Regions from separate parts of the Homo sapiens genome. Here all the other regions are linked to region 2. Evidence: promoter capture Hi-C in human tissues and cell types (Jung and others, 2019). All regions are on one chromosome and are shown on one strand. The core of a region is centred on a gene start or on the middle of the fragment in contact, and the rest is flanking DNA. Distances in the headings are between cores, read along the strand shown.

Region 1 (3,414 bases), core at 121-2,620, 710 kb before region 2:
TCAAGGTACCAGATGTCATCAGCCCTGTGGCTTTGTGGGCCCACTAATTCCCAATCACCTAAATTCACCCCATCTTTCAGTGACTGCTGTCCTGGGTTGGTGCCAATGCCCTGCCCTTCCCTCCAGCCCACATGTGCATACACAAGCGCACACCATACATACTCCAGCCCTCATCCAACAGACACTGTTCTGTCAGAACCTCAGCCAGCTCCTCCTATCCCTGGTTCTCCCCTGTCCAAAAACGCCCAGAATATGCCCTCAGCTAGAAGAACCCAGAGAAATCTCACTATACCCTGCTGGAGGGGATGGGCAGGGGCTGCTCTCCCTAAGCTCTGTGAATTATAATAACTAGACCCTGTAAGTCACAGACAACACAAAAAAATCACCCACAGGGGGGCAGCCCTTTGTCTATTAGTGAATTTTCTCAAGAGATCTGCTTACCTGCTTCACCTATTTCTTCTTCCTTTAGCTCCCAGATTCTGATTTCCTGGTTTTCCTTTGTGGCAGATCATATTTTCTGACACTCGTAGGAATTTTTTTTTTTTTTTGAGACGCAGTTTCGCTCTTGTTGCCCAGACTGGAGTGCAATGGCATGATCTCGGCTCACCATAACCTCCACCTGCCGGGTTCAAGCAGTTCTCCTGCCTCGGCCTCACCAGTAGCTGGGATTACAGGCATGCGCCACCCATGCCCGGCTAATTGTGTATTTTTAGTAGAGACGGGGTTTCTCCCTGTTGGTCAGCCTGGTCTCGAAGTCCCGACCTCAGGTGATCCGCCTGCTTTGGCCTCCCAAAGCGCAGCGATTGCAGGCGTAAGCCACCGCGCCCAGCCTTGATTTTTTTTTAATCCTCCTTACCGACCTTGCTCCCTGCCTGCCTGTCTTCCCATCATCCAGTTCTGCAAGCGCCCTTCGCATCTACCATCCCACCTGCTGTACCAAGCGAGCAGGACGACTTACTTTATTTACAACAGCACTTCTCAAACTTCAATGTGCACAGGAATCACCCAGGGACCTAGTTAAAATGCGTATTTTGATGTAGAAGCTTTATTTTTTAAATTTTTTGAGACAGAGTTTCAAAAACGTGGGGGGAAAAGGGAAAAGATAGGTAGAAAATGATTCTTAGCACCCCCAAGCATCTTTAACCTTTCATTATGTTTACTTCCAGCCTTTTTCATGAAACAAAATTGTGGTCTGACTGTATACAGTGGTATTAACTACAAAGGTTCCTAAGAAGGGACATCTTGGTTGCCCAGGCTGGAGTGCAACGGAACAGTTTTGGCTCAATGCAACCTCTGCCTCCCGGGTTCAAGCGATCCTCCTGTCTCAGCCTCCCAAGTAGCTGGGATTACAGGCGCCCGCCACCATGCCCGGCTAATTTTTGTACTTTTAGTAGAGATGGGGTTTAGTAGAGACGGGGCCAACATGTTGGCCAGGGTGGTCTCAAAACTCCTGACCTCAGGTGATCCACCCACCTTGGCCTCCCAAAGTGCTGGGATTACAAGCATGAGGCATCGCATGCCGCCCGATTCAGAAGCTTTAAAGTGTGGTCCAAGATTCTGCATTTCCATCAAGCTTCCAAGTGATGCGGAAAGTGCTGGACAGCAGGGAGGCTGCTGGCCTGCAGACTGCACCAGACTGCACTTGGAGTAGCAGGTCTAATGCCTGATACAGTCCTGTAACGTCCCTCCCACCTTTCACTGTCACTCATGGGGAGGGCAGTGCTGGAGATGGGTGGAACTTAACAACTAGTGGCCAGGGCCATGTACCAGTGTCAGCTTTGTGCCACTCTCTCACCAAACTGCTCCAACTGCTGGGGCACTAACCTTGTTCCTTAGAACTAGTTCCCCACTCAGCAGTTCCAGAAGTACAAAGTGGGTTCTGTAGTTCTGTGAATTCCCTGCACAACTTTTCACTGTCTTCCCCACTCCCACCATCTTGCAGGTTCACAGTTTAGAGCCTGGGTTTGAAACCCCAGTCTGCCACTCTTTTATGCGCGGCCTTGGGCATGACTCTGAGCCCGTTTCCTCCGGATGATGTGAACAGTGATTAGATACCGTGGACGAATCACTCATTTTGTCCATTGTTTGAACTTTTCCTCTTCTACCTGTTCCTCTAAATTAGCCTTGAAGCTAAAAGGTGCTTTTTGTCCCTTCTTAGGAATCTTTGTAGTTAATACCACTGTATACAGTCAGACCACAATTTTGTTTCATGAAAAAGGCTGGAAGTAAACATAATGAAAGGTTAAAGATGCTTGGGGATGCTAAGAATCATTTTCTACCTATCTTTTCCCTTTTCCCCCCACGTTTTCTATAATTAACAATATTAACTTGATAGGTTTGAAAACAGTCAAAGTAAAATAAACGGCATGAAATCAAGCTTCCACCCGCTCCGCTGAGAGTAGGAGAAGAGAAAGAGAAACGCGCCGACCGCGCCTGGCTGGGGCTGGTCACGCGGCAGCCGCCCCCACGCCTCCGCCAGATGACGTAAGTCACGTTCTCCACTCGCCCGCGCCGCCGCTTCCGGGGGGCTCGGCTGCTTTGCTTCCACCAGGCGGCGCCGCAGGACGCTCAGTTGCCAATGCCTCCTGCGCAGCCGCCCTGGCGCACGGGACACGTCACCACCTTCGCGTCTTTTCTGGAGAGCGCGGGAATGAGAGCGCCGGAGGGTGGTGACGTCACCGGGGTTCCCTGCGTGGCTCGCAGGGGCGGGGCCAGGTACGTGGCGCGCTGCGGCCCGCCCGGGGATCGGGAGGGGAAGGAGAACAGAGAGGGGGAGGGGAAGGAGGGGGAGGGGAAACCAGCGGGACGGGGAGGGGCGAGGTGGGTGGTGCCGATGCCTAGTCTAGCCAGGGCTGACCGGGCCGCGCCCGCCTCGTGACCACTGTGGGGCTGCGCTGCGGGAAAGGTGCTGACGAGGCGGGCGCGCGAGCTCGGCGGGGAGGGGTGCGGCCGGTCGGCGGCTGGCCGGTCCCCGACTTCCCGGCACCCTGGGCGACCGCTCCCTCGTGCGAGCGGGACCACGCCTGGACCGGGGCCCGCAGGTTTTACAGGGCAGCGGGGGGGATTTGGGGCACGTGGGGTCGGGCCGCACCCCGACCTCGAGACGGCGCGGCGCTGCGAGCAAAGAGCCGTCGCGCCCGGAGCCAGGCCCCGCCCTACCTGGGATCCCGTCGCCCTCCCGTCCCCGGGCCTACACCCGCCCCACCTGGGATCCAGTAGCCCTCCCGCCCCCGGGCCTACACCCGCCCCGGTCAGCTCCGGCCAGGTCGGGGAGGAGGAGGGCACGCGCCGGGAGGACCGCGACTGGCCGCCTGGAGCCCGTGGCTCAGGCTTTCCCAGCCGCTGTTTTCCCCTTTGTACATCGGGATCCGCTTCGCACACTTAGTTTCTGCCTAGCACATGCTGGGTGTTGTG
Region 2 (3,459 bases), core at 244-2,743:
GAATGGGTGTGTGTGGGGGGGTGGGTGGGGGGTTGGATGGGGGAAGATCACTGGGTGGGGGGTTGGATGGGGGAAGATCACTAGTAGTTAAAAGCAAGTACGCAGCATTGGGAATGAACCAAACTCGTAGGAGGCACAGCCCACTCAGTGTGCGGGCCCGGGCGAGCTGCAGGCCTGAAACCCACCCACCCTCTTAGATGTGTCTGTGGGCCATAGAAATTACTAGGGTTGTCTTGGGTGTGGCCTCAACCTGTTCAACAACAGGTGTGCTGTTTCCATTCTGGAAACCAGTCCTCTGTCTTCCAGAACAGTGATTCTCAAATTTTAGCTGGCATCAGAATCCTGGGAAGGGTTTGTTAAAACACTACTAGGCAGGGTGAGGTAACCTAAGAGCTTTTGGAGGCCCAGGTGAGAGGGATCACTTGAGGCCAGCAGAGTTCAAGAGCAGCCCAGGCAACACAGGGAGACCTCTTCTCTACAAAAATACTACTACTACTACTGCTAATAAAAGCCAGGCACCGTGGCTCACACCTGTAATCCCAGTGCTTTGGGAGGCTGAGGCTGGAGGATGAATCACTTGAGCCCAGGAGTTGGTTTTGGTGAGCTATGATCGCACTCCTGCTCTCCAGCCTGGGCAACAGAGATAGACCCTGTCTCTGGAAAAAGAAAAAAAAAAAAAGCAAGTAACAAAGATTTCTAGTCCCCACCTACAGAGATTGTGCCTCAGTAAGTATAAAGTGGGGCCCAGGATTTCTAACATGTTCTAACGTGCATTTCTAACGTGTTCTCCTGCTTTTTTTTGGCCCCTAGTCCGCACTTTGAGAACCGTTGTCCTAGAGAAAACGGAATACTCCAGGAAGGTTCTGGAAGAATAGGTAATGGGCTTTGGCACTCTGCCCTGGAAACTAGTCAAGTCTCATGTTAATCGGAGAAGGGCAGCACTGTACCAGATACATCCTCTGTGCGGGTTGGTCCAAGATGACCAAGTGGCAGCTGACAAGCACAGCTATGAGGAAGGGTTAGACACAGTTCCACATCAGACCCATGGGAAAAGGGCAGGAGAAATGCGAGAACCTTTTAGAAGGAATGCTCCAGGGAGTCTTTGGGGGCAGTCACTGAGCTGGGCCTGGAGGCTGAGTAGGGTCCTAGAGGAGGGAATGGGTCAGGTTTAGGGGCTGGAAACAGCATTCGCAAGGCAGCACCAGCACCAGCTAAAAACCTAGCCAACAGGGAAAACAAAGTACGGAAACACGCATGCGTTCACAGTGCTGCGTGAATTAACCAAGCGTTGGCGCAAACGGGAAAGGTTCCCCGGCCTCTCTTGGTCAGGGTGACGCAGTAGCCTGCAAACCTCGGCGCGTAGGCCACCGCACTTATCCGCAGCAGGACCGCCCGCAGCCGGTAGGGTGGGCTCTTCCCAGTGCCCGCCCAGCTACCGGCCAGCCTGCGGCTGCGCAGATCTTTCGTGGTTCTGTCAGGGAGACCCTTAGGCACTCCGGACTAAGATGGCGGCGACGGCCAGGCGGGGCTGGGGAGCTGCGGCTGTTGCCGCCGGGCTGCGCAGGCGGTAGGTGACGAGCCTGGAGCTCCGAATAGGTGTGCCGCTGGGCTTAGCCAGCGGAGCGGTCGCCGCCTTGCAGACCCTCTCTCGAGGCGGGTGGGTAGTGCATCTGATGGAGCCGGCGGGTCCGCCCTGTCGCCGTAGTTGGGGGTGAGCCCTGAGGCTGTCTGTGCGGGAGCTCGGCGCTTCTGTGGCCTAATCCGGGCGGACTCTCTGGAGCTTCCTCTCAGGCTCAGAGACCCAGTTCTTGAGTCTCTGCGGTACGGAAGCTTGTAGAGACTGGCTGTAGAGCCAGAACGGAGGAGCTGTTTTAAAATCGTGTGCCTCTCCCGCCCCCAGGCCCTCTACCGGGTGCATTCCCTCCTCTTCTAAACGCAGAATCAGAATGTCACACAGAAGGGAAGAAAATACCTTGTCTCGTTTCCTCATTTTCCCAGTAAGGCCCTGAAAGAGGAGGTGACATGTCCAAGGTTACACAGTTTCTAAGTGATGGAATTCCGACGAGAACCAGGACCCCTAGATTCCCTGCACCCACCACCATTAAGCCCACTCTGTTCCCTTGTTTTTTCCGCCTCCCTGAGCCCTACCTTTGAGTTTCACCTTTCAAAGACTTCTGTGAACATTGCTAAGAGGACATTTATGTAGGTGTACCTTAATTTTACGTCTGGAGAAAATGGCCTACGGAGAGTTTGCCCTCTAGAGTATTAGACATTGTAGTGTTAATGGTGCTCTTGAAGTTTAAATGTATATCCTAAAAAGATTTAAGTTGGTAGAATTTTTTGTTAGTTACCTCCTGTGTTTGAGTAGATGTCTTCCTTGAATAATGTAATCCACTCTTACTTTAAAAAAACAAGACTTTAAACCTGTATGTTGGAATGTGCTTCCTCTTTATTCATTCTGCTGCCTTTTCCCTGGGCTGAAGGGACGAGAATATTATTCTTCTAGTGCATTTCCAAATTCCAGAGTATTCACAGATTTAGATACTGAGCTATAGAAAAAGGCATTTTTACCCCAAACCTTGAACTGCACTCAATTAGTAATTATTGGGCACCAATTAAATAATGGTAGCAGCTGCCATTTATTGAGCACTTACTGCATGGCCTGGCACTGGTTTAAGCACTTTACATGGATTCTCTGGATTATTTATGAGGTAGCTGTGAAACTAATCTCATTGTAGAGATGAAGAACTGAGGCCATTGTGCTAGCAGCTAGAAATGAAGATAGTTTCTCCCCTTAATGAGTATGCAGTCTAGCAAGAAAAATATATTAACAAATAATGACAGTCATGAGTGCTGTAATAGATTCATGTAATTTAAAGTGGTGTGCCGGGCGTGGTGGCTCACGCCTGTAATCCCAGCACTTTGAGAGGTCAAGCTGGGCGGATTGGCTGAGGTCAGGAGTTCGAGACCAGTCTGGCCAACATGGTGAAACTAAAAAAAAAAAAAAAAAAGCTGGGCGTGGTGGTGTGTGCCTGTAATCCCAGCGAGTTGGGAGGCTGAGGCAGGGGAATTGCTTGAACCAGGGAGGTGGAGGTTGCAGTGAGCCAAGATCACGCCACTGCACTTCAGCCTGGGTGACAGAGTGAGAAAAGCGAGATTATTTCCATCTCAAAATAAAGTGGTGACAGCTCTTACTGTGATCAACACTGGAGCTAGTGTGGGGAGTGGCAGTCAGGACTTCACAGATTATTTGATTCCCATTCAGTGTTGATTCCATTGTTCTCTTGAATCCTCGGTGCCAATCCTTTTATCTCTCCAATAGCATCTAAGAAACTCTATGGGTTACAGTCCCACAGTATCCCAGTAGTCTTTTGCTTATCAATGGCATATAAAGATTATTGAAGGTAGTAAACAGTTCATCTGTATTTTGTTAATACTTAATTGGTGCCCACTCTTTCT
Region 3 (3,261 bases), core at 539-3,038, 690 kb before region 2:
CATGGTGGCTCACACGCCTGTAATTACAGCACTTTGGGAGGCTGTGGCAGGAGGATCGTTTGAGCTAAGGAGCTGGAGACCAGCGTGGGCAACATGGCGAAACCTGGTCTCTACCAAAAATACAAAAATTAGCTAGGCAGTGGTGGCAGCGCACCTGTAGTCCCAGCTATTTGGGAGGCTGAGGTGGGAGGATCACTTGAAACCCGGAGGTGGAGGTTGCAGTGAGCTGAGCGCCACTGTGCCCCAGCCTGGGCGACAGAACGAGACCGTGTCTCAAAGAAAAAAAAATAAAAAATAAAAAACCTTGTACTAAGCAAAATAAGCCGACACAGAAGGACGAATATTATATGATTCCACTTATACGAAATACCTAGAATAGGTAAATTCATTAGACAATTAGCCAAAGTGTATCAGAGGAGGTTGGGGGGATGCTGAGGGGAGGGGAAAAGAAAAAAGAAAATCAAGGGGTGGGAAGCAAATGGCTGCGGGGTAGAAGGGGAGTGGGCTGCCGCTTGGGTGTGTGGGCGTCAGGGGGAGACGGGACAGGCGATTTAGGCCCTGCGCGCAGGCGCCCCTGCGCTCCCGCCGTACGCAGCTGTCTTTGTCTGGGGCGGCGGCAGCGTGGCAGGAGCGAGGGGCGCCCCGACCCGTCCCCTCTGCCCTCCACTACCCCTGCCGGCTCCAGCCCGTCCGTGTCTCACCGTCTTTATTTAACAAAGAACGGAGAGACTATAAATGACCCTGAGCAGAGTGGCTGCGAGCAGGGCCCCTGGGGCGTCCCACGGGCGTCATCCTAGCCGCGTGAGCGCCGAGCTTGGGCACCGGGGGGGTTGGCGTGCTTGTACACTTGCTCCGTTTTCTCTGTAAGTACTAAGGATTCCCCTGCCGCCCTCTTCCTCATTTTCCACCATCCCAATTTACACAAGCATTAGTATTTTTTTTTTTTTTTTTGAGACGGCGTCTCGCTCTGTCACCCAGGCTGGAGTGCAGTGGCGCGATCTCGGCTCACTGCAAGCTCCGCCTCCCGGGTTCACGCCATTCTCCTGCCTTAGCCTCCCGTGTAGCTGGGACTACAGGCGCCCGTCACTACGCCCGGCTAACTTTTTGTATTTTTAGTAGAGACGGGGTTTCACCGTGGTCTCGATCTCCTGACCTCGTGATCCGTCCGCCTCGGCCTCCCAAAGTGCTGGGATTACAGGCGTCAGCCACGCGCCCGGCCACAAGCATTAGTATTTACTTCCGTAATTTCCCCATGCCCATGTAACATCACACACACACACACACACACACACACACACGTTTGCTTTTGTTTTCCAAGATGGCATCTAGTAGGCGCTTCTCTTTGTTTTGCTTTTCTAGTACACCGTGGAACCCCAAATCCCAGCTGGGATTCACTCTTTTCTAATGGCTGAACATTCATCCGGGGCATGAAGGCAGCTCAGTTCATTTCATCATTCCTTTGTTTCCTCTGTTTTGCCACCAGAAACTGCCGCGATGAATGTCAGTCCCCAGAGCCGGAACCGTTCCCGGTTTTCTCTACTTGGATCTGAGAACTCTGTCCCTCCAGCCCTGCGAGCGCTTTGCCAGGGTGACGGGCGGAAATGTCCCCGCATCCGTGCCTGCTTTCCCAGATGGGACCCTCCAGCAGTCCCCTCCACTGCCCGTGCTTCCTCCTAACCACTTCCCCCCAGCGACCGCGGAAGGCGCTTCCTCCCCCGCAGCGCGAGCCCCAAGCTCCTCCAGAGCCCCAGCTCTCCCCGCCCCCTTCCCGACCTTGTTTCATATGACCCCTCCCCCGCACATACTCAATTTCGTCTTCCCAAGGCGCCCACTCTCCACATCCTGATGAAAAAAAGAGCCGGCTGCTGTCCTATGTTATTGTCATACTTCTTTCCTCCCGTGCACTACACAACTTGAACAACTTTTTTTTTTCTTTTTTTGAGAAAAGGTCTCGAACTGTCGCCCAGGCTGGAGTACAGTGGCACGATGATGGCTCACTGCAGCCTCGCCCTCTCTGGGCACAGGTGATCCTCCTGCCTCAGCTTCCCAAGAAGCTGGTACTACAGGCGCGTGCCACCACTATTGGCTAATTTTAATTTTTTTTTAACCACAGGGTCTCGCTATGTTGCCCAGGCTGGTCTCGAACCCCTAGGCTCAAGGGATCCTCTCACCTCAGCCTCCCAAAGCGTGAGATTACAGGCGTGAGCCACCGCGCCCCGCGGTAAATACTATTCCAAGGAAATGGCACCTGAGTTTGAGGAGATTAATCGGGTTTACTGCAGGGAAGGAGCATTGGCCCTGGTGGCCAGAGGCAAGGGTACGAACCTGACCCTGCCCTTTCCCTGCCTGGTTCTGCCTTCAGCAAATTGTTCCACACATCTCTGGTTTCCTCCCCACATGATCCCAAGGCCCTGCTGGCTCTAGCCTTTGTGAGGCTAGAATTACAATTCCATTCCTCCCCAGCCACGCCCCATCTCTTGCTCCCTGTGCTAGCGCTTTCCCCAATCAGCCACACTTTCCTTTCCCATTCACTGAGCCTGTGGAAAGCCCTCTTATTCTGAATATCTAGATCCTATTCACCTTTGAAGACCCGACTTGGCCACGTTTCTTCCCAAAGCCTACTGCATGCCCTTTGTGGGAGGAACTGCTCTGTCCTTGCAACGCCACTGTGTGTAGTACTTTCTCTGTATCTTACCAGTGGCATCGCCCACTCTGCCTGGGGTGCTGTTCCATACTTGCCCTTCTTCCAGTGCCATCTATGTGTGTGGTAAGACCTCAGCATAGCACTTTGCCCACGGTAAAGGATATGGTTTCGGGAGTCCCAAGACCCGGGTCCACGTCCCAGCTCTGACACTAAATGTGTTATCTTGAACATGTCACATGGCCTTTCTGAGCTTAATTTCCCCAAATGTAAAATGGAAATAGTAACTTATTTCATAGTGTTGCTGTGTTGATTAGATGAGACATTATATAAGAAAATGCTTTGTGAACTGTAAAGCTATTTACACACATAAATAATAGTAAAGATAGATATTATTCAGATGCTGGCAAGAGGGATATTCTTTGCAAAACAGAATTAAAAAAAAAAAAGAAAAGAAGGCATGGTGGCTCATCTCTATAAACCCAACACTTAGCACTTAGGGAGGTCGAGGCGAGAGGATCACTTGAGCCCAGGAGTTCAAAACCAGCCTGGGCAACATAGCAAGACTCCCGTCTCTACAAAAATAAAATTAGCCTGGCATGGTGGCATGCGCCATTAAT

What was found. Contacts are between HindIII fragments. The study calls those that stand out against the background at their distance.
Region 1: a contact is called between a fragment that was not itself captured here and the fragment with the promoter of NFU1 in region 2, in 1 of the 25 tissues and cell types used here (hippocampus).
Region 3: a contact is called between a fragment that was not itself captured here and the fragment with the promoter of NFU1 in region 2, in 1 of the 25 tissues and cell types used here (aorta).

Annotation. Positions count from the first base shown.
Region 1 is chr2:70,141,970-70,145,383 of GRCh38, reverse strand. No RefSeq gene overlaps it. Among named protein-coding and RNA genes, the nearest start is that of LINC01816, 18 kb to the right of the region's middle. RefSeq lists silencers at 1,756-1,805, 2,736-3,414 and enhancers at 2,136-2,275, 2,286-2,645. The HindIII fragment of the contact is 5,722 bases long and covers 1-3,414 here.
Region 2 is chr2:69,435,469-69,438,927 of GRCh38, reverse strand. NFU1 (NFU1 iron-sulfur cluster scaffold) reads left to right here and starts at 1,493. Exons shown (of 8, transcript NM_001002755.4): 1 at 1,493-1,567. The coding sequence starts at 1,506. RefSeq lists an enhancer at 1,488-1,637. The HindIII fragment of the contact is 8,312 bases long and covers 1-3,459 here.
Region 3 is chr2:70,122,648-70,125,908 of GRCh38, reverse strand. LINC01816 (long intergenic non-protein coding RNA 1816) reads left to right here and starts at 593. Exons shown (of 2, transcript NR_024444.1): 1 at 593-863; 2 at 1,484-1,873. RefSeq lists a silencer at 678-972 and enhancers at 1,299-2,104, 2,105-2,910. The HindIII fragment of the contact is 6,404 bases long and covers 1-3,261 here.